Regions from separate parts of the Homo sapiens genome. Here regions 2, 3, 4, 5, 6 and 7 are each linked to region 1. The links are contacts of gene promoters, found by promoter capture Hi-C in blood cells and fetal thymus (Javierre and others, 2016). All regions are on one chromosome and are shown on one strand. Each heading gives the region's core, a stretch centred on a gene start or on the middle of the fragment in contact. The rest is flanking DNA. Distances are from core to core; before and after follow the strand shown.

What was found. The method cuts DNA at HindIII sites, captures the fragments that hold promoters and counts their contacts. A CHiCAGO score of 5 or more calls a contact.
Region 2: a contact is called between a fragment that was not itself captured here and the fragment with the promoter of RARS1 in region 1, in 1 of 17 cell types (fetal thymus). The highest score is 5.2, in fetal thymus.
Region 3: the fragment with the promoter of LCP2 here is called in contact with the fragment with the promoter of RARS1 in region 1 in 4 of 17 cell types (naive CD8 T cells, total CD8 T cells, activated CD4 T cells and 1 more); the score reaches 6.7 in naive CD8 T cells.
Region 4: a fragment that was not itself captured here is called in contact with the fragment with the promoter of RARS1 in region 1 in 1 of 17 cell types (naive CD8 T cells); the score reaches 5.0 in naive CD8 T cells.
Region 5: a fragment that was not itself captured here is called in contact with the fragment with the promoter of RARS1 in region 1 in 5 of 17 cell types (total CD4 T cells, monocytes, fetal thymus and 2 more); the score reaches 7.2 in total CD4 T cells.
Region 6: a fragment that was not itself captured here is called in contact with the fragment with the promoter of RARS1 in region 1 in 3 of 17 cell types (naive CD8 T cells, total B cells and activated CD4 T cells); the score reaches 7.6 in naive CD8 T cells.
Region 7: a contact is called between a fragment that was not itself captured here and the fragment with the promoter of RARS1 in region 1, in 2 of 17 cell types (naive CD8 T cells and total CD4 T cells). The highest score is 6.5, in naive CD8 T cells.

Annotation. Positions count from the first base shown.
Region 1 is chr5:168,484,169-168,488,220 of GRCh38, forward strand. RARS1 (arginyl-tRNA synthetase 1) reads left to right here and starts at 2,303. Exons shown (of 15, transcript NM_002887.4): 1 at 2,303-2,375. The coding sequence starts at 2,331. The HindIII fragment of the contact is 3,317 bases long and covers 262-3,578 here.
Region 2 is chr5:170,326,105-170,330,156 of GRCh38, forward strand. No RefSeq gene overlaps it. Among named protein-coding and RNA genes, the nearest start is that of LINC01366, 3.3 kb to the right of the region's middle. RefSeq lists an enhancer at 1,726-1,825. The HindIII fragment of the contact is 1,877 bases long and covers 1,287-3,163 here.
Region 3 is chr5:170,295,445-170,299,496 of GRCh38, forward strand. LCP2 (lymphocyte cytosolic protein 2) reads right to left here and starts at 2,333. Exons shown (of 21, transcript NM_005565.5): 1 at 2,090-2,333. The coding sequence starts at 2,167. RefSeq lists an enhancer at 1,436-1,515. The HindIII fragment of the contact is 7,744 bases long and covers 1,162-4,052 here.
Region 4 is chr5:169,805,034-169,809,085 of GRCh38, forward strand. All of the region lies in intron 26 of DOCK2 (dedicator of cytokinesis 2), which reads left to right. Among named protein-coding and RNA genes, the nearest start is that of DOCK2, 170 kb to the left of the region's middle. RefSeq lists enhancers at 288-337, 468-517, 3,152-3,729. The HindIII fragment of the contact is 2,225 bases long and covers 1,033-3,257 here.
Region 5 is chr5:169,719,117-169,723,168 of GRCh38, forward strand. The region is part of intron 22 of DOCK2 (dedicator of cytokinesis 2); the gene reads left to right. Among named protein-coding and RNA genes, the nearest start is that of DOCK2, 84 kb to the left of the region's middle. RefSeq lists an enhancer at 535-834. The HindIII fragment of the contact is 2,838 bases long and covers 863-3,700 here.
Region 6 is chr5:169,666,977-169,671,028 of GRCh38, forward strand. DOCK2 (dedicator of cytokinesis 2) reads left to right here. Exons shown (of 52, transcript NM_004946.3): 3 at 2,312-2,352; 4 at 3,566-3,621. Among named protein-coding and RNA genes, the nearest start is that of DOCK2, 32 kb to the left of the region's middle. The HindIII fragment of the contact is 2,626 bases long and covers 343-2,968 here.
Region 7 is chr5:169,645,917-169,649,968 of GRCh38, forward strand. All of the region lies in intron 1 of DOCK2 (dedicator of cytokinesis 2), which reads left to right. Among named protein-coding and RNA genes, the nearest start is that of DOCK2, 11 kb to the left of the region's middle. The HindIII fragment of the contact is 2,257 bases long and covers 1,073-3,329 here.

The DNA.
Region 1 (4,052 bases), core at 1,053-3,552:
TGCTGTCTACACTACCCACCCATTAGTCACTTATTAGCCCTCTGAATTACTGGATTGAAAAAACATAGTATATATATAGGGCTTGGTACTATTCACGGTTTCAGGCATCCACTGAGGGGTGTTGCAATGTATCTCCCACGGATAAGGAAGGACTGGTATATTAACACTTTTATTTGATTTACAAAATAAAGGATAGTTTATATAGTTCTGGGTAAAATTAATTAATTAATTTAAAAGGAAAAAAGATAAAGGCAAACTTTAAGCTTGTTAAAAATTAAGTAAAATAATTTGGATTATTTAATTGGACAAAGAGGACTGGCTTTGCCAATGAAACAATATGGCCGACATGTTCCATAAATTGGACAAGCTAAACTTGCAAATCCACAGTTTTGACGAAAATATAGTGAGAGCACTTATGAAACATCATGCCAGAAAATAATCCATTCCCAGAAGTTGTGAAAAGAGTTTTTAGATGTCTTTTTTTTTTTTTTTTTTTTTTTTTTGAGACAGAGTCTCACTCCGTTGCCCAGGCTGGAGTGCAGTGGCCAGATCATGGCTCACTGCAACCTCAAACTCTTGGGTTTAAACAATCCTGCCTCCTAAGTCTCCTATATAGCTGGGACTACAGGTGCACACCACCATGCCTGGCTAATGTTTTGTATTTTTGGTAGAGACGATGTTTCACCATTTTTTCCAGGCTGGTCTTGGACTCCTGGGCTCAAGAAATCTGCCTGCCTCAGCCTCCCAAAGTGCTAGGATTACAGACATGAGCCACTGTGCCTAGCTCGATGTCAACTTTTAAAAGTATACACTGGGATATGAATTTTTAAAATACTTTTATGAGGCACGGAAGCGAAAACGTTTAGAGTGCTACTTTCTAAGTTCTGGAGTCATAGAGAAGAGTGAACAAGATAATTAAGGTCCCTGCCCTCTTAGAACATATATCCCAGGTTTGCTGTTTATAATTTTAACTCAATATATATACAATGAAATATTATTCAGCCTTATAAAAGAAAACCCTGTTATGGGTGACAACATAGATGAACCTGGAGAACATTATGTTGGTGCAATAAGCCGGGCACAGAAAGACAAATACTACATTAGCCCATGTATATGTGTAATCTAAAAAATTCAGATTCATAGAAGCAGAGCATAGAATGGTGGTTGTCAGGGCTTCAGAGGTAGGAAAGATGGGAGATGTTGCTCAAAGTTACAAAGTTTCAGTTAGGCGGGATGAATAGATTCTAGAGATGTAATGTATATTGTATACTTGCAGTTTTCGTTTTCGTTTCGTTTTGTTTGTTTTTAAATAGAGAGAGAAAAGGTCTCACTCTGTCATCCAGGCAGAGTACAGTGGCATGATCATGGCTCACCGCAGCCTCAAATTCTTGGGCTCAAGTGATCCTCCCACCTCAGCCTCCTATATACCAGGGACTACAGGCACATGCCACCATGCCCGGCTATTTTTCCATTTTTTTGTAGAGACGAGGTCTTAGCTGTTTCCCAGGATGAGAATAGATCTTAAATGTTCACAGCACACACGCGCGCGCGCGCGCGCGCACACACACACACACACACACATGCAAATGATAACTGTATGAGATGAAGGTTATGTTAATTATTTTGGTTGTGGTAATCATTTCAGAATGTATACATATATCAAAACATTACGTTGTACATCGTTATGATATACAATCTTTGTCAATTATACCTCAATAAAACTGGAAAAATAAATAAGATTTTAACTCAAATGTCACTTGCTTAGAGATGTCTTCTCTCACCCAAGTCACTCTATCACATTGCCTTCCTAGCAATTAAAACTACCTGAGATTATTGCCTTTTTTGGTCTATTTTCTCTCTCCATTCTAAAATGTGTCTGCCGTGAGAGGGGAGATCGTGTCTGTTTTGTTTTCTTTGTGCCCCCAGAGCCTAGAATACTGTCTGGCATTTTAAAGTACACAATAAATGTTTGTTGAATAAATGAATGGATTTGTTAGTTTTGTGCCCATTTCACAAAGGGGCAAAGTGAGGCCTTTGAGAGCCAGAAGCTCTAGGTCAGTGACTGTCCTAGTCTATCCAAGCACAGAGCAGCTCTGGTTAGTGTCTGCTCAATTCCTCTCCCCTCGCCCAAACGTCCCTGAGTTGCGGCCTCGCTCCTGACCGAAATCCCCGCGGGTTCTCCTCGCAGTGTCTACTGGATCCCGCCAGGAGGCAGCAGAGGCGCCAGCACCCAGTCCGACGGGACAGCGGACCGGAGGGGGTTTCCGCTTCCGGGAGAGGCTGACCGTTTCCGCTTCCGTCCACTTGGCGAGTGAGACGCTGATGGGAGGATGGACGTACTGGTGTCTGAGTGCTCCGCGCGGCTGCTGCAGCAGGTTTGGACGCAGGAGACCGGCGGGAAGGCCTGAAAGAGATGGAGCAGGCTCTGACTCCTGCCCAAGCGGCTTCGGGGGCGGGACAGCTAGGCGAGGACCATCCTGGTCCTCTCAGAGTGGAGCGGCACGGTCCCTGTGGGAACAGGAAGGGTTGAGAGAGGAAGCACCCATCATTTCAAAGCCCGTGTGACTGTGATTTTCAGCGGAATGGAGGGTCCCCACCCTCTCCCAGGCCTCCCCCAAACCAGCGTCTTCGGTGGGCTGGAGCCTGGCATGTTCAGAACAGTTCTCTCCCTACAATCCACCTCCTCTTCTGCATACACACGCGATTTAGGGGATGCGGGGAGATAGACAAGGGGGGAATACATTCAGAGCTCTGGGTCTTGGTTTGCAGCTCAGCCGCAGTTCTTCCCGGGTTACTGAGCGAGAGGATTCCTAATAAGCCCATGGGGTGATTCATTATCAGACCAGCGGAGCTTGCTCTGTGCCCTCAGCATTCGTCGGGAAGGAGCAGCCACACCATATAAAAGTGAAAGCGGCCGGGCGCGGTGGCTCATGCCTGTAATCCCAGCACTTTGGGAGGCCGAGGTGGGCGGATCACGATGTCAGGAGATCGAGACCATCCTGGCTAACACAGTGAAACTCCGTCTCTACTGAAAATACAAAAAAACTTAACCGGCTGTGTTGGGGGGGGTCCCTGTATTCCTAGCTACTCGGGAGGCTGAGGCAGGAGAATGGCGTGAACCCGGGAGGCGGAGCTTGCAGTGAGCAGAGAGCACACCACTGCACCACAGCCTGGGCGACAGAGTGAGACTCCGTCCCCCTACAAAAAAAAAAAGTGAAAGCGGAACAGTTCCATTACCTTTTATGCCCAGGTGGGGAGGGATGGTAGGAAGATAGTTCACAGTACTCTGTCCTGTTACGGCTGTATACTTAATCAGCAGTCACAAAGTACAAGTTAGTCAAGTAAATTGGCAAGCTCTTTACATTTCTGAGCCATTTATTTATCGGTATGTATTTATCTTTGCCTCACTTGGTTGTGATAATCATGAAGGTAATTTCTGAAAAGTGTTTTTAGCTCAGCTCCTGGAACATAATGTATGCTCATTTTTGGCAATTTGGTTTTGGCTGTAGCTATCTCCCAGTAAGTATTCTGAAATTTCAGGTGAGGAACTCCCCCTGAGTTTTGCAGTTTAAGTTGGAAGCTTTATTTCTTTCTGAATTGACATGTCTTTAGTTTTAGATGTTAAACTACAAAGCCTGGTCTGGTCTAGTCTAGGACCTAAGACACTGGAAACAGGAAGAAATGGGAAAATTGTTTAGTCCCAGAAAGGGTGAAAGGCAGACCCTTGAGCTATTTTGAATGTGACAAAGGACATTTGGGTTTTTTAAGAGTCCCAGGTCATAGGATTTGGGAATAAAAGCAGGTTGGTCAACCTGAAACTTAACTACTCTTGCTAAATCAGAGTGTTTATCGAGCCAAAGAAAAGAACTAGGGATATGAGACATGAGGCATATCCCATTATATACTTACTCCGATTCCTGTCTCCCAAAACACATGTATGTGTGGTTAATATATTCTTTTTCTTTTTCTTTTTTTTTGAAACAGAGTCTCGCTCTGTCAAGCAGACTGGAGTGCAGTGGCACGATCTCGACTCACCGCAACCTCAGCCTCTG
Region 2 (4,052 bases), core at 975-3,474, 1.8 Mb after region 1:
AAAAAAGTAAGATGAATTGATGGATGGGTAAAGGAATAGCTAATTGATGGATAGATACGTGATTAAAAAAAATACAAATTTACACCCTCAAGGAGGTGACGCGTAATTCCTCATTAAGTTTTTTGAACTGTGGGATGCACCTAGTAACTTCCTTTCAAAAAGTACACATGGAAAGGAAGGAAAAAGTGTAACTTCACAGTGGAGAACCTGACCAGCACTACCTCAGCCAGGTGATCAAGGTCAACAAGAGCGATGACATGTGGACAGTGTGTATCCTTGATATGAGATGAGAAAAGCACTTTACCTCTGCGGTCTTTCTTCTAAAAATCCACATCCACAGTGTAATTGCCAGAAAATCATCAGACAAATCCCAACTGAGGGACATTCTATGAAATACCTTGTAAGTACACCTCCAAGGTCAGGAGTTGAAGACCACCCTGGCCAACATGGTGAAATCCTGTCTCTACTAAAAATACAAAAAATTAGCCAGGCCTGGTGGCATGTGCCTGTAATCCCAGCTACTCAGGAGGCAGAGGCAGAAGAATTGCTTTAACCTGGGAGGCGGAGGTTGCAGTGAGCTGAGATCGCACCACTTAAAGTATGGATTTTAGTTAATAACACACCAATATTAGTTAATTAGTTATTACAAATGTATCATACTAATATAAGATTTTAATAATAAGGGAAACAGGCTAGGAAGTATATGGGAACTCTGTACTTTTGTAATTTTCCTTTTTGTAGTTAAAAGGTTTATTTAAATAAACAAGCTTAGTAAAACATTAATGGTTGAACCAAGGTTGTGTGTATATTGGTGTTAATCGTAAGATTCTTTCAACTTCATTGTAAGTTTGAAATGATTCATAACTTTATTTATTAGCTAGCATTTATTTGTAAGTTGAAACTTCAGGGTAGGAAGATCCTGAAATGCTTCAAGCACCTACAAGCAAACAAAGGTTTGCAAATTAAAATTAACGGTAGAGCACTAACAAAGATGTGCAAATTGCCTCTGAGGTTGTTTTTACTCGGTATGCTTTGTTCACTGCTTTATATTAATCGAAGTAAAACAATTTGTAGGGATATTAATAACTTTACCATCAACTCGGGTTCCTCTAACCCTAATATTCCCTTGAGATTTTAAGTTTCGTAATCATAATTTGTCCTAAGTGCCCACGGTGTGGGAGAAGCTGTGTATTTATGTTTCTGCAGATGATCTATCCTCCTACTTCACAGCAACAAACCTGAGGCTATCAGGCATAACTGCCCCATTTCCTGTCCTCCTACCTAGAAGCTTATTTATAACCTTCCCACCCTTGCCCCCTTCCTTCGAGACTCAGAGAGCAGTTCAGGGTTGGCCACTTATTGTGTCACTTGTTCCTCCCCTTCCTAATTCTTTCAAGGCATTCACTTTTTTTTTAATCAATTATTTTATTTCTTCCTCAAATTGTTAAACTTTACACACCAACTCTTCATCACAGCCCCCAAAGCCTGTGAATCTCATCTTTAAACAGTGAATCATGTCCTCCCAAAGCAAAACAAATCAACCACCCTAACACCTTCTCTCTGCCTCTGTTCTCCTCTGCCTCTTGCCTCCTGTCTTTTCCCAAAGCCAAGGTTCTGCAGAAGACCATCTACACCTGTCGTCTGCATGGGACTTTCATTCCTCAGTACCCAACTCTCCACCGAGAGCCCTCTGACAAGGTCACTGAGATGTCCCCAAAACCCATGCCAGCAGCCTCTTGTGGTCACCTTCTTGCTAGACTTTTAGCAGCAGGTGACACCCATGACTGAGTGTCTGCTTGGTATTCTCCCCTCCCCTGGCTTCCAGGACCCCTTTGGCTAGTCCTCGTCAGCCTCCTTTGCTGGTTCCTCTTCCTCTGCTCACCCTGATAAATATCAGAGCTCTGTCCTTGGTCTTCCTCATATCAAGCCCTAATACACTCTTGCTACACAATCCAACTCCCCCCAAGGCCACCCTCAACTCCAGTGACTCTCAGATATACACTGCCCCACAGAATACCAAAAGCCAACACGCAACTTGTTTTCAACACTCACTATGTGCTAGGCACTGTTCTAAGCATTTGACCTATGTTGTCTCATCTAATCTTTACAACCCTATCAGGGTGTACTATCATTAACATCCCATTTTACTGAGCACAGAGCTCAAACAACTTGCCCATGTCCACACAGCATGAAGCCAGGATTCAAGCCCTGTCCCACACTGTGCTCCTTGCAGAACATCTCCACCTCAAGGTTTTTCATCCACCTCTAACCTACCATGCCCCAAATGGAATTCACAATCCAAATGGAATCCTTTCCCCCAAACTGTTCTCCTTGTATTTCCAGGGGAAGATCCAGGCTTGGTGGAGCCTGAGGATTCTATAATTGGCCAGGAAGGGGCTCTTTAGGAAAAAATAAATAAAAAGAAAACAATGAATACAAGAGTAGGTTTAGGACCTTGATAGTGGATGTGAAAGGGAGGGATTCTCGCACATAACCTTCATTAGCTTCATGGTGAACCCCACCCCATACATTTTGTATTCCAGTGGCTAGCATCTAGTCATTCCAGCAGGGGCATGGAAAATTCTTCTCTTTATATTCCCTCCCTCTTCCCTTCTTCATCCATATGGAACCATGGATAGCACTCTAGTTCTACCTTCCTCAAGTCTCTAGAATCCCTCTTTACCTTTTCACGTACACTATCCTGATTAGCTCAGGTCCTCAACATCCCACACTCGGACCATAGCCATAGTCCACTCTGTCTATTCCTGCCACTTCCTGGACTTTCCCCAACACAGTTCCTGTGCTTAGCAGGGTGACCATCAGAAACATGCATCTCATCAACCCTTCTGTGATGGTCCATTTTCCTCTGACTAGCATCTACATTCCTTAGCCCAGCAGTACCCAGCACAGGTCAATCTTGCCAGCTTTACTTTTCCCTGTGCTCTCCTTTTGTTCCTTTCTTCAACAAATAATTATTGAGGACCTATTCTTGAGTACTATTATGAAGTGCCAATAGTAGGGTAATTGAATGCTAAACACTGAATATGCAGTAGCAATCAAGACCAGATCTTTCACACCTCTTGTCCCATCACACCAAATAGCTTGCAGTTTTTAGACTCTAAGACTGTGTTCAGCTTCTTTCCCTTTTCCTAGGCTGCAGGGAAGCTTTTAAATTCATTGATTACCTGAATAATAACCACTTATCCTTCGTGGATCAGATACAGTGTTATCTCCCATATAGAGCATTTTCTGATCACCCTCCAGCAGCAAAAATGGATCCCTTCCTCATTTCTATCCCAAATGTGCTTTTGAGATCTGATATTCCCTCAGAACACCTAATATACTTTGATGCAACTACTTGACTATTGAGAAGGTCTCCCTCATTTCAAAGCAAACATTTGGATCAAAGAGACATCATTTTATTCATCTCTACATCCTCACTGGAACCTGCCATATAGTAGACACCATACATTCATACATACGTACATTCACCAACTCATTCATCTTCATCCATCCATCCATCTACCCATCCATCCATTCATCTATCTACTCACTAATCCATCTACCTACTCACCCATCCAACCATCCATCTACTCTTTCATCCATCTACCTACCCACTTGTCCATTTAACCATCTACTCATCCATCTACCCACCCACCTGTCCATCCATCTACCATTTTATTCATTTACCTACCCATCCGTCCATCCATCCATCTACTCATCCATCTACCCATCCACCTGTCCATCTACCCACTCACTCATCCGTCTACTCACCCACCTGTTTATCCATCCATCTACCCACCCACCTATCCATCCAACAAATATTTCTGAATGTCCTCAATGTCCCAGCCATTTCTCCAGACTCTTTGGATATAGAGAAGAACAAGAAAGAAGAGGCCTCTGCTCTCACTAGCCCTACATTCTAGTGTCTGTTGCAGGGTCAGTGAGGGGTGGGTAGGGGGTCACAGACTACGGAAATAAACAAAGTAGGTGAGTGAGAAGTACTGTAAAGTAAATTAACAGAGCAATATCCCAGAGGGTACTACTTTAAA
Region 3 (4,052 bases), core at 1,083-3,582, 1.8 Mb after region 1:
CTGTTCATATCTCTATTTCACTGATGAGGAAGTTGAGGCACAGAGAGGCAAAGCAACTACAGGAAAGTCGCCAAGCTAGCAGGTGGCAGAGCCAGGGTAAAGTGTGTCCGACCTCAGAGCTGAGTCGAGAGCTGTCTCCAAGGGAGGCCTGACCCCACTACTTGGGTAGAGTTTGCATCTGCAGATCAATTCTTTACATGTCATGTTTGACAGCTAAGATCCATTCCCAAATGACTCTGCGGTCCATTCGTTTGGTAGTTTCTTTCAGGGGGCTGAGGTACTCAGAATCTGAAGGGTTTCTATCCAAGTCTGTGGAGGGACTAGAACTTCCAGGATCACAGATTTGCCTCAGTCTCCTAGTTTCTTCCCTCAGTCCATTTATGGCAGAAGAAGGAACCTGCCTGGGTGCTGTAGATTTGTCCTGGGGTCTGAGATCTCCAGGAAGAAAACTCTCCCTTCCCCCAGCTCAGGCAGTGAGGTCTTCCTGTACCATCCCTGACCCGTGGTCCATCTCCCTGTACTGATGGGAGTTTTAGGGATCAATTCTCTGTTGCTCAATTGGATTGTATAATTCTCCTGGTCACACCTGAATGTTAGGCCTATCTGTGCCTCTCAGCCCGTCCCAAGTCTTTCTCTTCATAATTCTCAATTCCTTTCTTTTTCCCTTATCAAGGTAACATGCCACTTTATTCCCTCTTGGCAAATTTTACCTTGTTGCCCTATCTTATTTGGTCTATATTTGAGCAAGATATTTAGAAACATCCTTCAAAAAACCAGTTGCGCAACAATATTTGCTGAAATCTAAGTTTATTATGACCTTGCAGAAGGAAAATAACAGAAATGAAAGCACAAAATATGGCAAAAAACAGGATCTGTGAACTGTACCCCTACCATACCACACCTAGTTCAACATGTTCTCATTTTCTTCTTCAGGTTGGGGGAGAACAGCTGTGACTATAAATGCCTCGGAAATGCATAGACCCCAGGTTTGGCTATACGTCCTAGGGAACCTCGTCTACCCTCTTGAATCTCAATTTCCCCAGGAAAAACACGAAGCTGAATTAGATGACTTCTACCATCTTAGCTTTACAATCTCATCTTTATGACAGTCTGGAATATCAACAGAATCCGATGCCAGCCTGCAGGGATGAGGGTGTTAGAAGCTTAACCGTCTCGCACAAGTCATCTTACCACATGGTCAGGGTAGAGGGACTATAACTAAGTCATGTGGCTTGAGATCTGCCCAAGCAGATGCGTTGTCCCCTTCTGCCAATGACCAAGCACAGGGATCCTTCAACCTTTCCTCTAAGTCCAGAAGATAAGACAGCAACGCTCTGGTCCCAGCACCGCCACAAGCCTCTTTTCCTCTAGGGGCCTCAGTTTTCATAGCTATAAATTGGGGCTCACATCAGTTTTCTGTCCTGCTTCACAAGACTCTCATAAGGCTCCAAGGAGACTGCCCCAGGCGGGAGCTTGAGGACCCCCCTTAGGGTCGTGAGCAGTGAAAGCCCAAATGCTGTGTCTGGCACTGCTCATCATAGTCCTCTATCCAGCCCTCCCACCCTGCCTATTCTTTCTCCTGCCTCCAGGACACCACGTCTCCCCTTTCTAGTAAGTAGCGTTGATCTCATTAGCAGTTACAACAGTTCTCTGCATCTCAGAGCATGGACTTTAAAACCAGATAGGTGTGGCTTGAGTCTTGCCTCTATCACATGTAGTCCCTAGGGCTTCGGACCATTTCACTTCCCTGAGCTGATTTTGCAGCTGAGTCAAGGGGATAACAATGCTGACCTCACAACATAGTAGGGAGCGCTAAATGGGACAGTGCCTGTGAGACACCGAATTCAAACCCTAGCACATAATAGGCACATACTCATTTGAGGGCTTCTGCTCCCATCCTTCTCTCCGGAACTCATGGTCAGGAAAACTCAGCGGTCTATATGGCGCTCACTCAACCAGTAAAGTTGCCATAGGGTTCCATTGCTATCTTATACACCTCCCACATTCTGCCCCAATTCCATCGTCAAGCCTCAGCTCAGCCCACCAAGGGCACTAGCATCATGACCATTCACACAAGAGCAAGGCTTACCTTCTTGAAATAGTCAGCAAGGCTGTCGGGGTCCCAGCCCAGGACCTCTGAGCGAAAGGGCACATTCCTCAGTGCCATGGCTGCTCTCCCGGGAAGAAGCTCACAAGCTGAGCATGGGCGCTTCACCCATGGGCAGAGAAGCTCAAATCCAGAGCTCGGAGGCGTTCTTGGCTCTTCCAACTCCCAGCTACCCTGTGGAACACCCCTGTTGGAGCCGATGTCTTTTCTGGCGTAGCCAGATCCCAGAAAGCAACGGCTTCCTCTGCGAACAAATATGGTCTCTTCTCAGAAAACGACTCAGCTAGTTTCCTTTACCACTTCCTCTGCTGGGCTCTAAATAAGTAAACAAGGAAGCCCAGCTCTGGAGGCTTGAGATGCAGAGAGAGCCACAGGGTTGGTAATTCCCCACTGGCTCCAGTCACCCCAACCCAGTAGGAGAGGCAATGAAGGGGTCTTAAACTCCAATGTGAGTCTGAGTAATTTTCCTTTAAACTCTGGGCACCCATATGTCTACACTGCATTCTTGCTCAGCTGGGGCTTTGCAGACCAAAATCTATCCTGACGGTTGACCTGAAATACAGACAATTTCCCACATCAGTGAACTGCTGGAGCATGTTTTTTTAATGCTTTCCAACCACTTTCCCCTCCCACCATCAAAGACTGGGATTCTTTCAGCTGCCTCTTTACAGTTGTCATGAGAGGGTCCTCAAGGAGTGAGTGAGTCAGGCACCCAGGGCTGAACAAGGTGCTACACTGTGCAGACAGGGCTCAGTTTCTGATATGACTATTTCTGTGCTATGCAACCTTAGGCAAGGAGTTAAAAGCTGGGAATCTCAGTTTCCAAATCTGTATAATAGGAAAACAGTGATTCTTCATATGCACATAAAACTTAGATGCATTCAACTAGACAAACCTAAAAAGAAAAATTAAAAAGAAAAAAAACTTAACAATTGCTATTGGTAGTGTCATATATTCCATTCACTATTGTTTCCACAATATATTTTATTCACTATTGATTCTGCCATATATTCTAGCCAAAGAGCACATTCCCTGGAGATAGGAGGTGAGAATTTGCTGTTTTCTTAGTTTCAGACATTGTTCATTTCTCATAACTGAACAACTTATTGGCAGAGGGTGAGTCCAGTGTATAAAAGCAACTATATTTGTGCAATAAGGCAACCTCTAAACACAAGTTACTACTTCATCTAATGCCACACACACACACACACACACACACACACACACACGAGTCATCTGTTCCAAGGCTGTTGCCTTTACTAAGTGATGCTATGTTGGTCCTTGAGGTGGTGCCTTCCTGAGGGTTTTCAAGCATAGCTTTGGCCATGCACAGTTTTCTTCTTATACACACTCTGAGGAGCCCCGCCGTCACGGTAATGCACCTGCCTCACAAGCTGGTGGGCAGCTTAAATGAAATACACATTTTGCTCCAGGCCCAGCACTAGCTCATCAATGTGAGCTGGTGTTAGCCTCACCTTAGAAGGTGCTGAGGGCATCAGTGAAGGTAGCCCAGGCCATTTGCTCCTTGCAGGGCCTCACACCTAAGAACTCTTTTCTTTTCTCTCTTTCTTTCTTTCTTTCTTTTTTTTTTTTTTTTTTTATTGAGACGGAGTTTCGCTCTTGTTGCCCGGGCTGGAGTGCAATGGTGCCATCTCGGCTCACTGCAACCTCCGCTGCCTCCCAGGTTCAAGCGATTCTCTTTCCTCAGCCTCCCGAGTAGCTGGGATTACAGGCATGCACCACCACGCCCAGCTAATTTTGTATTTTTAGTAAAGACGGGGTTTATCCCTGTTGGCCAGGCTGGCCTGGAACTCCCAACCTCAGGTGATCTGCCCGCCTAGGCCTTCCAAAGTGTTGGGATTACAGGCGTGAGCCATTGTGCCTGGGCCGCACCTAAGAGCTCTTTGTAGCTGATCATTCTGTATAAAGCACAGCTCTGCTGTAC
Region 4 (4,052 bases), core at 895-3,394, 1.3 Mb after region 1:
ATAGTGTAGAAACATGAGGGTTTGTCTATTATTTCTGTGGTAACATCCTATATAATGTTGCCTCAGCCAGGGAGGTTGATCATGCCTGTGATCCCAGCATTTTGGGTAGCCCAGGGAGGAGGATTACTTGAGGCCAGGAGTTTGAGACCAGCCTGGGCAACATTGCAAGACCTCTGTCTCTACAAAAAAAAAAAAAAAAAGGAAAGAAAAGAAAAGAAATTTGCCGGGTGTGGTGGCATGTACCTATAGTCCTAGCTGCTTGAGAGGCTGAGGTGAGGGGATTCCTTGAGCCCAGGAGTTCAAGGTTTCCATGAGCTATGATCTTGCCACTGCACTTCAGCCCAGGTGACAGAACAGACCCTGACTCTCTGTCTTAAAAAAAAATTTGCCTCTTTCTGTTGAAAAGCCAATCCACAGTGTTTTTTACATTTTAGTAATGCTCAGATCCCTTTAAATGGGGAAAAAAATGTGGGTCCTTGGGAATATGCCAGTGGCCCCCAGTTTGGGGGATCCAGTTATAATGTGCTAATTGTCAAGTTCCTGGTTTGGTGGAAAGATGGCCCCAGTTCACAGTTATTTGTGAAGTAGGATGCTGAGGCTCTGCCCATCCCAGGGGAGTGGCCCCCTAGAGCTCTACCCTGACAGGCTGTCACCCTTTTGCACATTCCCTGACATCAGACACTGGTGAGAAGAGGCTGCTTGCTGTCTTACACACCCTCGATACTTAGGGCTTCAAAGCCAAGAAGTGAGTGGGAGGCTCTGAGCTCCCCGTGGGGGATTGTGGCATCTGGACTTGAGGTGTGTGGGAGGTGCGTGTCACTCTTTACCGCCTCTGAGTGCAGTGCTCTTATAATGAATTCTGACTGTGGGGACTAACCCACCCCTTTCTCCGGGTGAGCAACTGTCTTTGCTGGATGAGTTATTAAATACTGTTATCACCATTGAATTTGGTAGAAATTTTGATGCTTTTGGTGAGCTTCACATCTCACCTCTCCTGCTCATGAAGATGGAAATCTCTCTTCTTTTCTCAAAAGCTTCTTCAATGAATAGGAGGCATTCAGTAGCCATGATTACTTTGAGCTAAACTGAAAATGAGAGGCCCAAAAGTACCTAAATTTCTCATGTTCTAATATATAGCGGCTCTCAACATTGCCTCATTGCCTGCATAGTCATATCACCTCGAGAGTTTTTTTTTTTTTTTTTTTGAGCCAGGTTTCTGCTTCTGCCTCCTGAGTAGATACAACTATAGGTACCAGCCACCACACTTGGTTAATTAGTTAATTAATTAATTAATTTGTAGAGATGGGGTTTCACTATATTGCCCAGGCTGGTCTCAAACCCCTGGCCTCAAGTGATCCTCCTGCCTTGGCCTCCCAAAGTGCTGGGATTACAAGCCACCCGGGGAGCTTTTTAAAAGTCAAACTAGCAGGAGTCAGCCAAATGGGTAGGAAGATGGGGTGGGTCCCCGGTGAAACCCCATCTCCAAGCCGAAGAGTTTAAAACCTGAAAGTCAAGCTGTATGTTAAATCCTCAGACTGGATTGAGAACTTGTCCTACCATTTGGCACACTTTCCTCTGATTGATCCCCACCCTTCGCTTATTTTACATAAACTTACCTTTTCCTAATTGGTTTTCTACACTGTCATGCCCACCTTTGAGTGGTGTCTTCCCTTTAACCTTTTTTTGCGTACTAACAAACAAATCGGCAGTCCCCATTCTGAGTCTATAAAAGGCCCCAGACCCAGTCACACAAGGTGTGGGGAGGGACGGGGAGGGGACAACTTTCCAATCTTGGGGTAGGGGAACCAGTGCCCCACCTCCACCCCCCACCATCCCCCCGCCCCCCCACTGAAAGCCGTTTTCACTGCTCAAGAAAATTATTCTCCGCCCTCCTCACCCTTCAATGCCCCACGTATCCTCATTCTTCTTGGGTGCGGCACAAGAGATCCGGAACCGCTGAATATGGGTACAAGCTATAACATAGTTGGTGAGCTGGATGGGCTGAGTGAGACCTGGGCAGGGCGTCACTGGCTGGGGGTCCCCGGCTTGCAAAGCGACTGAGAAGAAAAATCTTGCATCAAAAGCAGTAATACCTAGGCCCCTGTCCCAAGTATTCTGACTGAATTGGTCTGGGGTGGGTGGGGCACTGCAATGAAAAGGTGATGATTACCAGGTGATGCTAACTGTCAGCCAGCATGAAGAGCCACAGGTGTTGAGCAGGTCTCAAACCTGAGCAGGCACCCCCAGTAACCTGGAGGAGCTGTTAAAACACGTTTCTGATCATTAGTCTGGACGGTGGGGTCCTGGCGTCCAGTAACTTATTTTTCTAGCAAGTTCCCAGGTGCTGTTGATGCTACCAATGTAGAGGCCATGCTCAGAAACCATTGCTCTAATATGACCTGTCTTTTTTTTTCCTTTAGTATTCACTGGAAATAGAGGAATAGCTGGGCTCATTCTCAGTTCTTTACCTTCTTAATTTAAGAACCCTGTCCAGTCTATAAAATCTAGCATCTTCCGGCTGGGTGCATGTGGCTCACGCCTGTAATCCCAGCACTTTGGGAGGCCGAGGCGGGCGGATCACGAGGTCAGGAGATCGAGACCATCCTGGCTAATACGGTGAAACCCCGTCTCTACTAAAAAAATACAAAAAATTAGCTGGGCGTGGTGGTGGGCGCCTGTAGTCCCAGCTACTCTGGAGGCTGAGGCAGGAGAATGGCGTGAATCTGGGAGGTGGAGCTTGCAGTGAGCCGAGATCATGGCACTGCAATCCAGCCTGGGAGACAGAGCAAGACTCTGTCTCAAAAAAAAAAAAAAAAAAAAAAAAAATCTAGCATCTTCCAATATGCATTTAATAAACCACAAAATGGCAAATATTTCAAACACATTAATTTGTACTCATGAATTCATCTTCATGGGATAGAAGGGACATGGAATATGCAAAGATCCAACTTTGAAAATCCAGACTGTAGAATGTGCTGTTTGCTTTCTACAGGCACCAACTTCTCAAAATTGAACACTTAGATGAAAACTAATAAAAAAGGCCCCCAGAGCAAATGTTCTGGATTTTTCTCCTGGTTGTTTGGACCTTCTCTGCTGACAAGAGCATAGCCATTTTTACTGGCTTTTAGTTGGCATCATGGAACAACCCATTGATGTTCCATGGAACATCCAAGAATAGAGACTATGTCCACCTACTGGAGGCATTGCCCAGGGTAGAACCACGTGTGGAAATTTAGCAATTACAGTGCAGGATGCCAAGCTTCCATTTGGGGGGCGCTGTGTGTTTGGGGAATGGGACAGGATGCTTGTCTTCAATAGATTGTCATTGTTTGGGTAATTACAGCCCAGAGCAGCAAGCCAACCTTATTCTTTGAAACCCTGGGTGTCATGGTAGGACTCAGGGGGAGATGTCTGCCTTAGCCTGGCTGTTGATTTTTTTTTAATCATAGTGTTGAATTCCCTCACCCAGCTTGCTCCTGGTCTCTTAGCATATGAAAGGGACCAGCTCAGGTGAAGGATAAAAGGCCTGACTTCTTCCTCTATTAACTCCTTTTCTCCCCCCTCACTGAGCAAGTTTAGTTGTCAACTCCAGTTACTTTGAAGGGCGGTTTCACACTGCTTCGTTCTGTGCTTTGCTGGCTGCCGAGTAACTGATAAAATTTAATATTGCTCCAGACCCAGAGAGAGTTGGTTTTTCCCCTCTTAAGACAGGGTTTTTGTTTTTATGTTTCATTCCTCAAGAAAAAGGAGAGTCGTTGTTTGCTACTCTGCTTAGCAGTCTTAAAGTGGGTAAAGATGACTCCTAATTCTCAAGAAGAAAAGGTGTTGGCTGCATCTGAATCGTGGACATAAGGAATTCTCAGAATCATCTTTTTTTAAAAAAGTATTTGAGTCTATTGGCTAAACCTGGGTGGGGGGCTACCAAGGTACTCTCAGTCATGAATGGTTTAAGGGTTCTGATTTTTTTTTTTTCTTTGAGATAAGGTCTCACTCTGTTGCCCAGGCTGGAGTGCAGTGGCGCAATCTCAGCTGACTGCAACCTCCACCTCCTG
Region 5 (4,052 bases), core at 1,032-3,531, 1.2 Mb after region 1:
GGCCTGGGAGCAGGAAGGGCAGAACTCAGGGAGTCTGACATTTACTTGGCTCTTGTAGGTTGTACATGGCCAATAAGCTGGTATTTGCAGTTGACCTGTCTGTCCTTGAGATCCTAGTAGCCAAAAAGTGAGCTGATGTATTAGAGTACCTTAGAAGATTTTGATGGTCAGTATCACAGAGGCCAGCTGCCTTTTTGAAGGGCTTTGGAGAGGAAGGTATTCAAATGCAATTTATAGAAGAACAATTCATGTTCATCTTGGCCATAGGGCAAAGTTAGGTAGAGGATTGTTTGTGTGTAATCAGGTTGGTTGTGTGTGATGGAAAATAAGAAAAACATTCAAGGAAAGTATTGTCTGGATTCTTAGTGCAAACAAAGAACACGCAACTGAAACTGACTTAGGGAGAAATGAGACTTTATTTCACATCATTGAAAAACCAAGGGTGTAGTCGGCCTCAGGCATGGCTGAGTCCAGATGCTCAGCGTTATTGGGATAGTCTCTGTCTGTCTAGATCTGGACTCTGCTTTCTTTTTGTTGATTGTCTTATAAGGCAAGTTTTCCGACGCAGAGGCTGCTAGAATCCTCAAGTTTACATTCTACCAGTGGAAGCAACTCTATGTTCCTTGTTGTCCTAGCAAAACCCTATGCCAAGAACTGTTTTGGGTCTTGTATAGTTGTGGTCATGTGTGCATTACTGGAGTCATAGCCAGGTCAGCCACTTATGGTGTGGACTTGTTATTTTAGAGATGAGTTCTCAAAAGAAACTTGAATTAGCCTGGGCAACAAAGCAAGACTCTGACTCTTAAAAAAAAAAAAAAGACCATCATTGTGATTGTGATCATGACAATGGATGGGCTGCTAAAGCTTTATATTTGACAGTGCATCTGAAACAGGCAATCATTTGGGATTCTCTTAACACATTCTTTGAGATTTCAGGTTATGAATAGAAAGATGTGAGTGTCTTGAACCATGCGACAGAACAAATGCACTTAGGTCATTCTGAAAGTGAAGTGTCTGTTTCAGATTCCTCTGGCTTGTCATTTAGTCAAGTCTGAGTCGGGTATTCTAGGTTTGAGAGATACTTCTCAGTGATTTGGGAAAACCAATGAGACTCCAGTGAATCTAAGAGTGATTTTCTTGGAGGAGTTCAAGAATTCAGACATTGCAGTTACAGCTTAAAAGTCAAGGATATCTTATCCCATCTTCCAAGTGAGAATGTTTTATGTATAAGTAGAATATGTCTTTTCTACTTCTCAGACCTTTTCAGTTCTTCCTTTTGGTGTATTTATTTTATTGCTTCTCCTCTCTCCTATATTTCTTTCCTTTTCCATCCCTTCCTCCCTCCCTTTCTTCCTTCCTTCCTTCCATTTTTTCCTTCCATTTTCAAGGATTGAGCTTCTTTACAAAGCCTCTTGCAGTGCCTGAAGCTCAGACAACCAGCTGCGCTAATCCTCAAGGGTTCTGAGCTTGTGGAATTATACAGAGTTTGGAGCAGGCTGAGCTTCCCTGTTCCATGAGATGGACACTGAGCGGCTCCCCTTCCTACTGGAAGGCACATGGAGATGAGACTGCAGAGCTTCTGTTAAGATAACTCTCTTATTTATTTATTAATTTTGAGACAGAGTCTTGCTCTGTCACTAGAGCAATGGCGCAATCACGGCTAGAGGGCAATGGCACAATCATGGCTCACTGCGATCTCCGCCTCCCACCTTCAACTGATTCTCCTGCCTCAGCCTCCCAAGTAGTTGGGATTACAGGCACGCATCACCACACCCAGCTAATTTTTTAGTAGAGACGGGGTTTCACCATGTTGGCCAGGATGGTCTTGATCTCCTGATCTCGTGATCTGCCCACCTCGGCCTCCCAAAGTGCTGGGATTACAGGCGTGAGCCACTGCGCCCAGCCAGTATAACTCTCTCATGTCTTACGTCTGTTAGTTTTTGTGTTTTCCATCTACTGGGACAAAATACATTTGTGCATTTGTTTTGCTCTTCTCTGCCTCAAGGCATATAATCTTGCAGAACCCCTAACTCTTTAACTGGTGTAAATTCAGTGCTGCTGTGACGTAAATGCTAAGTGACTTTTGGCTTATTCAGGAGCAGGGTGATCTGTTATTCCTTGCTGTATCCCTAGAATAGCAGCACATCACTGACATTTGGTCAGGAGAGGTCTCTAAAGCAACCCAAGCCTAATCTTGAATCCTTCCTCATGAACAGAAATGTAGGCTGACCTGCAAAGACGGTCTAGGACCTCATGCTAGGAGAAGGTAGGTTTTGTGTCTTGTTCTTTTTAGAATCTTTAGCAATGATCTGCTCTCCAGTGGAGTCTCTAGGGCATTGGGAAGCTATTGGGGTATTTCTCCATACGAGGGGGCATCTTCTGTGGGAAACTAGAAAACAGAAGTTTCAATGCTTTGAGATGTCTAACCCAGCTGTTGGGAAATCAGAATTGAATTATTGGTTTGGGGCTAATTGTATCTGGTATTGTGTGTCTGTTTCCTGTGAATCCTTTATTCTCTTTCCCTGCTTGCATAACTGCAGCGGATCTAGCTCCCATTATTTGTTCCCTTGCCATTATTTTTTGCACATCCTGCCCAGGAACACTTGCAAGGGCTAAGGATTTTCCTGTGTCAGTATGCAACGTATAGTTGGGTAAGGAAAGAAGAGTCGTTGTGGAGAAGGGGTGGAATTTTTATTTTACTATATTGTTCAGAAGGATTCATTTTTATCTATAGCCAAAGAAAGAAGAGAGTGAGTTCCTTGTCCCTCGCTTCTTGTGTCACTAGCTCCTGAGTCAAAGTCTGGATCAAGTGTCTCTGATTAGGCACATGCCAGTGCTGTAGCTGCAAAGGAAGCTGGCAGAGCAGGTTCTAGCTTCTGCCACAGGGAGGCAGTCTTATGAGTAATTCCTAAATTATAGGAAGTGTGTCTGAAAGATGCTGGTGGCCATAAATATGTCCAATATCCACTAGGCTTTTGTAGAATGACTGAGCTCCTGGGAGGTATTGAGCATTGTAAGGAACATTCAGAAAGAGTTGAAGTGATAATCTTCTACGATTCAGCTTCTTTACAAAGCCCCTTGCAGTGCCTTTAATCCTGAAGCTCAGACAACCAGCTGTGCAGATGCCCAAGGTTTCTGAGCTTGTGGAATTACACAAAGTTTGGAGCAGACCATGCTTCCCTGTTCCATGTGATGGACACTAAGCAGCTCCCTGTCCTACTGGCAGGCACAGAGAATCAGACTGCAGAGTTAGGATAACTCTCTAAAAGGGAGAGGAACCAGAACACTGTGCTGCAACAGGAGTTGCTCCCACTTGTCTCTGCTCCTCACAGATCCTCATGCTGCCCCAGGCTAGAGTGCAAGGGGCAGCATGGAGTAAGAGTTATGAGGAGATGTTCATGCAGGACAGACAATGGGTATAGTGGTATCTCTGCCTCTATAAGTACCTGGGTTAGTGATTGAATCAGCCTCTCTGAGCCTCAGCATCCTCATCTATAAATGGGGATAAACCAGTTCATTGTGTTTCAATGATGAAATGAGATTATGGGTACAAAGTGCTCCATGCAATATCTGGTACTTATTTCATAAATTTAATAAATGTTAGCTGGTATCATGTTTTCACTTAGGAGAAACAGCAAGGGTGCTTTTTTCAAAAACTCAGATTTAAATTATTAAGAAGAAATTCCAGGGTCTTGATTCAAGCTTAAAATTTGACTTACTACTCATACTATCCTAAACATTTCTTACAGTTTATTTCTCTGGAGGCAGGGATAACTTTTACCAGGTGTCTGTGCTTTTTGAGGACCACAATGTGGTACTCTCCTGGCCCCAGGAATTCACGCTGGTCTACTGCTAGCCCTCACTGGGTGGTCCTGATTCTGTGTGTTGCTCTTATTTCCTCTGTGAGTGTGATCAGGCCCCTCTGGCCAGAGCAGCTGTGGTGCCCGGGTCTCTGGCCCCTGCTTGCTATGCCTGCTTTTCTTTGCATCCTGCCTTCTGCTCTTATTACAGACCTGCTTATTTGGGTCTTGCTTCCTTCCCCATCTCCATTT
Region 6 (4,052 bases), core at 406-2,905, 1.2 Mb after region 1:
CAGGAGTGAGGTGCAACTCTGAGAATTAGGAAACCTATAAGACGTACACACATAACCGAGTTTTGAGGGTCAGAGCAGGCAAACTCCTTGGATCCAGGAAGACAAGTTACCTTAATGGAGTCCCTGTCACAGAGATGCAGATGTGGACATGAGCTTTGTGTAGGGACCATCTATTGGTCCCTCGATTGTTTTTCTGTTTTTTGGTGGATTTTAGTGACCTTAGCCATCATGTGGGTTCAAGTCACTGCTACCAGATGACCCTATCTCTATTTGCACTCTAACCCCATCACATGGGAGACAATGTGGCCAACCAGCTTTAAGGATTGGCTTTGAAGTCACATAAGCTTGAGTTTGAACTCTGGTTGTATGATCTTGGCCCAGCCCATCAATTGACTTGAATATCAGTTTCCTCATCTATAAAATGGGAATGATAATACTTAGCTCACAGTGTCGCTCTGAGGATTAAATGAGAGAATGCCTGTACAACGTTTAGCATACAGCTTTGCATGTTGCAGGTGACCAGTGAAAGACAGGTAATAATAATATTACAAAGTTGCATTTCTGTCTAGTTGGTGAAAAGGGGCAACTAAAGGAGGTTGTTGTAGCACAGCGCAGCAGGGTGTTGCTTGAGTGTAAATCTCAGCTGCATCACCCACTAGCTGTGTGACCATCAGCAAGCTGCTTAATCTCTGTGCCTGTCTATTTTCATTTGCAGAGCTGAAGCAGTAATAGTACCTACTTAATAGGATTGTTGTAAAGATTAATTTACAATAAGACAAAACAAAAAATGTCAACAGAGTTACCAGCACATAGGAAGCACTTAGAAAGTATAAGCAGTATTGTTAATTATGGATTATTTTTCAACAGTTATTGACAAATAATTAGAGGCCACTGAAAATAGAATGTGATGCTTCATGAAGTAGAACATCTTCCATCACTGGAAGTATTCAGGTGGAAAGTAGCTTAGTGGAGATTTAGTTTTGGAGATTTAGACATTGAGAAGTTGGAAATATTAATATTAGGTAACCATCAAATCATTCCCTCATAATATAGGAAGCATAGGTGATAGTTGCTTATGTTGAAAACCTGACACTGCAACCTACTAGCTGTGTGATCCTTGGAAAGTCACTTAACTTCTCTGTGCCTCAGGTAGGCCACTCATTTGTAAAACAGGATAATAACCGTTCCTACTTCATGCGGTTGTTATGAATATTGAAGGGCTTAATATATAAAGAGTGCTTAGAATGGTATTTTTATTTCCCACCTGAGATTCTCTTTCCAACCTCCCTTTCTTCCTTCTGTTTTTCCTCTCTCCTTCCTTTCTCCTTTTCTCCTTCCTCTCACTTTCTGTCACTCAAAAAGAAGCTATCACGGCCCCCTGTTGCTTCAGAGTTTCCTTTAGGACCTGGCCGTCAGGCTGGCTCATGACTATGAAGGGTGACTTTGCATGTTAAGTTGTTTGTTTTTGGGCTTGGTTGTATGTCTGTTGGGAACATATTTCATCAACAATCTGTCAGCCCGGTAATGAGGGGTCTGCTAGTGAGGCTCCTGACAGACGCGTTTTATTTACAAAGATGACAAATGCCACTCCTTGGCTGTGTTGGAATCATTTCAAAGGCCAGCCGACTCATTACAGTCATCAGGACTTGCTGCACTCAGGCGTATTTTGTCTGAGGACTGTGTGTAATTTGGATTTCTGCTCATTGATACATTTTTTAATATAATATTCCTGCAAAGGGTAGATCTCTTAAAATCCCTGTCCCTTTATCTGTCCCTAAACTTACTTGTTTTGTAACGACTAACTTTTGTAAATCGCATTTTAGACACTATTTGCTGCTGTTAGAACTGTCAGTGTTATTTTAGGATGTTTGCCCAAATCAGGAGCATTTCTTTGTCCCGAAGGCAGGAATTGAAAGCATGCAGATGGTCACAGGGCCCAGGAAGGCAATGGACACAAGGGAGGGGCTGCGTTGAGGCTGGTGGACTGGAGGCAGATGCTCTGTCTGGTGGACCCTGCTGCTTTTCTCCTCCCAGCCAGTTGGGAGCACTGGCCAGCACTACTGGGGCTCCTGATTTTTCAAAATCAGGAGCACCTTTATATGAAGTCTATTTTTAGATGTTATTTTGAGATGTTGGCAACCAATTCAACAGATTTCAAAGACTATGAGCTTCCAGAGTTTGATCTGTACCCAAGGTCTAAAGCAATTTGCAGTAGTTTTACTAGTTTAAAACAAAACAAAACAAAACAGAAAAACACTAGCAACAAACTTGTAATAAATGAGGGAACTGTTTCTTTGTTTTCTTTTTGCAGACTGGTATAGGGGATACCTCATAAAGCACAAAATGTTACAGGTAAGGTCACCTGGTTTTTATTTGTGTCAGTACTGGAGGTCTTCATATGGCCCCGCTATCCCATCTGAGCAGGTCTCTCCCACCATTGCTCCTCAGCAAAGGGAATCCATCTCTCCCTCCTGTGCCCTGTGCTCTCTGACCTCTGTGCCTTGTCACTCGCTGTGCTCAGCTCCCTCCCACTTTCCCTCATTCTTTAAGGTTCATCTCTGGTGCCATCTCCCTGCAACTTTTCCTGATATGCCACTCACTTATGATTTCTCCCTTCCTCGAGTCTCTGTGGAATTGTGCGTTATAAATTTGAAATTTATTCTACTGCCTTCCTTTAGAGTTGTTTGCAGCATTCAGTCATCTCCTCATCCGTATACCCAGGTCAACACAGAAAGGACAGGCCTGATTTCTACTTTTGAGGGGTTCTCTTGTTCTAACCTCACATTTCACTATTGTCTCCATGAGAGCAGGCGCTTGCTTTGCTTGTCTCATTTTCTCTCACAGCACCTAGCACAGTGACCAGATGTCCCCAGTATGCACATTGGTTGCATTTATGAAGGGATTTCCAAGTAATTGATAAACTTACCTTGTTAACTGAGCCAAATGTATGGAGTAAGGAAATAATAGAAGCTTCTTCCTTCTTCCCTGACATGCTGTGTCGGGAGGGATGGTCCTATTCTGCTCTCTCAAAGAACAATGGAATAAATGCAGGCAGAATAGGTCTCAAATCGAACTAGCCCAAATGCACCTAGGAACATTGTTGCTTCAGGACCAGTTATTTCTGACCTTCCAGTTGTTCCTGACTGTGAAGGGTGACCGCTTTCCGGAATCGGGCAGGCAATGGGAGAAGCAGAGCTCCTCGTCTCGCTTAAAGTCAGTGAGTGGTTTAGGTTGTCTTTCAAACGATACTGTCTTATAGCCCACCTGCAGGATGAGTGGCCATAATGGGTTGGAGCATCCCTTGGGATCTAGGGCTATGGTGAGATCTAGGGCTATTGTGGGATCTAGAGCAACTGATGGAGAACTGGAGGGAAAGCCAGATCTAAACAAGTAGATTTAGAATCCAGCCCCTGTTCTATCTGGCTCTGGGTTTATTCCTTTAAAGTCTGGGGATTTTATAAGCCAGTAGCTTTTGGAAAAAAATTATAAAGACGTAGGGTCATTCATTTCTGTGGTGATATATCTTTTTATTTTATTTTGTTTTGTTTTGTTTTGTTTCCAACAGGGCATTTTTCCTAAGTCATTTATCCACATCAAGGAAGTGACAGTTGAGAAAAGAAGGTATTTGCCATTCTTCACCAGACTTGAGCCTCCAGTGGCTCATGGATGTCTCTGTCCTGTTTATTTTGAAAATCTGACTTGGAAGAGCTGAGGGTTGCTCAGCTTATCTTCTTTGTGCCTGTGTATATTTGTGGGTCTCCTTTCCGTTACTCAATGGGAGATCTAATCCAAATTGATTCATACTGAGATCTGACTCTGAGGGGGTATTAGTTTGGAGAATCAAACTTTTTGCTGGCAGCTACCTTAGAACTGTATTAAAGTAGATTAATCCTAAATAATGAGCCCACCCTAGCGAAGGAGGACATAACAAAGCAAGTCCCTTGTATTTGCATAATGTAGTTGGTGTGGCTATTGGAGGTGTTTTAGTCTAATGTCAGGAAGGCCCCTCCGCAGCTGCAGCTTAATGCAAATTTGTTGGTGTTTTATCTTGT
Region 7 (4,052 bases), core at 951-3,450, 1.2 Mb after region 1:
TTTTTTGTATTTTTAGTAGAGACGGGGTTTCACCGTGTTAGCCAGGAAGGTCTCGATCTCCTGACCTCATGATCCGCCCATCTCAGCCTCCCAAAGTGCTGGGATTACAGGCATGAGCCACCACGCCCAGCCTCTTCTAGGGTTTTTATGGTTTGGGATTTTACATTTAAGTTTGTAATCCATCTTGAGTTAATTTTCGTGTAAGATATAAGGAAGGGGTCCAGTTTCAGTTTTCCACATATGGCTGGCCAGTTTTCCCAGCACCATTTATTAAATAGGAGATCCTTATTCCATTGCTTCTTTTTGTCAGGTTTGTCGAAGATCAGGTGGTTGTAGATGCGTGGTGTTATTTCTGAGGTCTCTGTTCTGTTCCATTGGTCTATATATCTGTTTGAGTACCAGTCCCATAGCATGGTACATTTACAAAGCCCTTGTGTCATCATGTTTAGCCCTCACAGACACCCTAAGAAAAATAACTTCTGTCTTCATTTTGCAGGTGAGGAAACTGAGGCATAGATCTTTGAGGTCTCTCTGAAAATTCCCTCTATTTTATGGAAGTTGCCCCTTTTCACCTTGTCTTTTAGTTAGGTAACTGCATGTCATCTTCCCCACTAGCTGGTACATTGTTGGAGGGCAGAGCTGTATGGAGGGTTAACTTTGAGTCCATTCAGCATCACTGCAATAGCAGGAACGTGGTAGGTCAGAGAAACTAATCATTATTGTAGCATAGGTCCCATTGAGAATCCTGTGACCGCTAGAAACACACTTCTTCCCATTAAAATATGCACATGTGCAGTTCTGCATTGTAATGTCGCCAAAACTCATTCATGGAAGCCAGTTAAGGTCCCTGGCAAAATGTGCTTATTTTACTCTGTAACTATTTAGTAAACAAATACAATAGGTATAGCCAAAGCATTCTGCCTAAGGTTTGAATTCTTGAAGCCAGGAGCTTGTCAAGAGTCGGAAAACAATTCTTACAGTCTGTTCAGATCAATTAAGTTCAGTAAGCCTGTCCTGAGTGATGGTCCTTAGCTGGGTGTTTGGGCCCAGAGATGAATAAAACAGTTCGGGAAGCTTACAGTCCAGTCATAACCTCTCTTTCTGTATGAGGCAGCAGAGAGCACCATTATTAGTACTAATGTCCCCATTGGACAGGTTGGGGGCAGTGCCCCCTTTGCTTCATGTTACTAGAGCTGCCATCATCCCCTTCATACTTCCTTGCAGCCTCATGTTGAATGATCTGGGCACCTCTGTAGAATGCAAGCTCTATGATGGCAGGGCCATGTCTGTTGTTCTTCTTCAGCACAGAGCAGGTGCTCAGCGGCTGCTGATTGGATGGATGAAGAGGTGGATTCATAGGTGGATGGATAGTTGTTGATTAGATGGATGGGTGGGTAGATGGATGATAGATGGGTGAGTGGATGCATGGATGGGTGGGTGGGTAGATGAGTGGAGGGGGAGGAGGATGGGTAAAGGGTAAGAGTTGGAGGTTTTAAAATTTTCTGGTGGCCTTATAGGATTCAGATGGACTGAGTTGCCCCATCTTGCCTTTATCTTCCCACCTCATCCATTTCCCTGTCAGGAGGCGAGGTCCTGTGAGAGCACAGCACAGCAATAAATAGAGTACTCTTGAACTCGTCTCCAAACAGTGGACTCCTGCAGATGGTCACTCTACCAAGCTCACCAGTTCTCCCTGGGACTCCATTAAGATGGCCCTGCCATTCATCCCTCACACATCAAGCTGGTTTCCCCCCTCTCTTCCCTGCTGTCACACCCTCTCCCCACCTCCTTGGGGGCTCTCAGTCCAGTTCTTCCCCTTGCCAGTCTCTGCCCCTCCCTCTCCCTCCAGTCTCACTTCCTTAGTGGGGCCTCTTTTTCCCTCTGAGAGTCCACAGCTGCTGTGACTTGCAGTTTAGCCTTTCACTTCTGAAGACAGCTCTTTGTTTCTTGTGTGTTTATTTTGTCTCTTCGACTAGATTTCACAGAAGCTCAGGAGAGCAGGAGCCACCCCCTTTCACCCCACTTTTCTAGCTGCAGGATCCTGCAGAGTGCCAGACGCTCTCTGCATTTGGGGCTGGAGGGCTGATTTGATTGATTTCACCATAAACTCTCTTCCAACTCTGTAGTGTGTGTGTGCATGTGTGAGTGCAAGAGTGTGTGAGAATGTGTGTGTGAATGTGCCTATAGGAGTACTAGAATGGAGAGAGTGAAATCCAGCATGATGTTTCAGAGCAGGGTTTATCAACCTTGTCACTATTGACATTGTGGGCCAGGAAAATCTTTGTTATGGGGCTGTCCTGTGCACTGTAGGATGTTTAGCAGCATCTCTGGCCTCTAGTCACTAGAGGCTAGTAGCACTGACACCCCCGACTCCCCTCCCCCAGGTTGGGACAAGAAAAATGTCTCCAGACATCAACAAATGTCTCTTCTAGTGGGGCAAATTCGCTCCCAGTTGAGATCACTGTTTGAGAGAATTCACTGGAATCCTAACTTTCGTCTTGTCGGCTGGGCATGTCACTGGCTCGCTAAAAACTGTGCGCTACAATATGCAGCCCATAAGGTTGTTATCATGATCCAGCAAGAGGCCTAAAGCACCTGGCACAGTGCTGGGACCAAATGCATCTCCACTCGTGAGAGGCGATGTGAGTGTGGTGCATGGCTGAGAGAGTGTGCTCCGGAGCCAGCCTGTCTGGGGTGAAATCCTCACTTGGCCCCTTCTTTGCTGTGTTCACCCCAGGATGTTTACTTGATCTTGCACTACCTCAGTTTCCTCATCTGTAAAACAGAGACGATAATAATCACACCCACCCCAAGAACTGCAGATTCACGATGAAATGGGTGGCTGTGCGTAAAGCCCTTGGAATAGTGTCTGGTATGCAGGAAGTGTTTGGCAGAGGTTAGCTGTTCTTCTGCTCTCTGCTCTCTCCTGGTGGGTGGAGGAACACCTCCTCCTTCTAGGTTCCCTCTGGCTGTAATTCTTCTGCCTCATTTGCTGCTGACTAGCGCCCGCCCGGGTTTGAGCTCTGGGGTGGCTGCCAGAGGCTTCTGCTGGGTCATCGCAGTCACCCTCGTGGATGCAATGTCAGGATGCTGCCTCAGTGCGGAGGCTGTCAACACCTGTCCAGAGACTTCAGGCACACTGCTTACGCATTTCGATGAGCGCATTTCACTTGAATCCACCAAAGTGGACCTGCTGCTAGTTCTATTTCCCCCTGGAGTGGAGACTCTCCAAAGTGAGCTTCGGGCAATTACATTCTTTCTCCATTATTGCTTTTGTTCCTCTTACACAGCCACTTGTCCAAACTCTATTAACACTTGGTGTTGGCTGAAGCTTGTGTTTTCAAACATGTCAGCAGATGGCAGGGCCCCAGATGAGGTACGAATCCATCTTGAAGGGTCACAGGGCACTCGATGGCTGCAATCAAAATTGGCAGCCAAGACGTGTCTTTTGAAGCAATCTTGATAAATGCAAGAAAGAATATAGCCAGAAGAAGGGACATAGCTGCCCTTCATGTTCATTCACATCCCTTCCGTCCAATGAGCATTTCTTAAAAGTTCAATAAACATTGATTGCACTTCTACTGTGGGCCAGGCGCTAGGAATTCAGTGGTCAACAAGATAGGCTCAGTCTCCATCCTTACTGAGGCTGGATGTAACGAGGATATAAACAAGCCCAGTGTATGTGTAATAGAGTGTGATGCCTGGTGAGGAAGCAGGGACTCTGGACTCCACTCTAGGTTTGAATCCGCTTTCTGCCACTTTCTGTGTGGCTATGAGCAAGTTCCTTAACATCTCTTTGAGTTTCTTGTATGTTACAGGAAGAGTAATAACTTGAGGTTACTATGAAGATTAAATGGGCTGATACAAGTAAAGTGCTAGGGATTTTTTTTTCTTTCTTTTTTTTTTTGCCGGCGTCTTGCTCTGTCACCCGGGCTGGAGTGCAGTGGTGTAATCTCGGCTGACTGCAACCTCTGCCTCCCAGGTTCAAGCAATTCTCCTGCCTCAGTCCCCCGAGTAGCTGGGACTACAGGTGTACCCCACCACACTTGGTT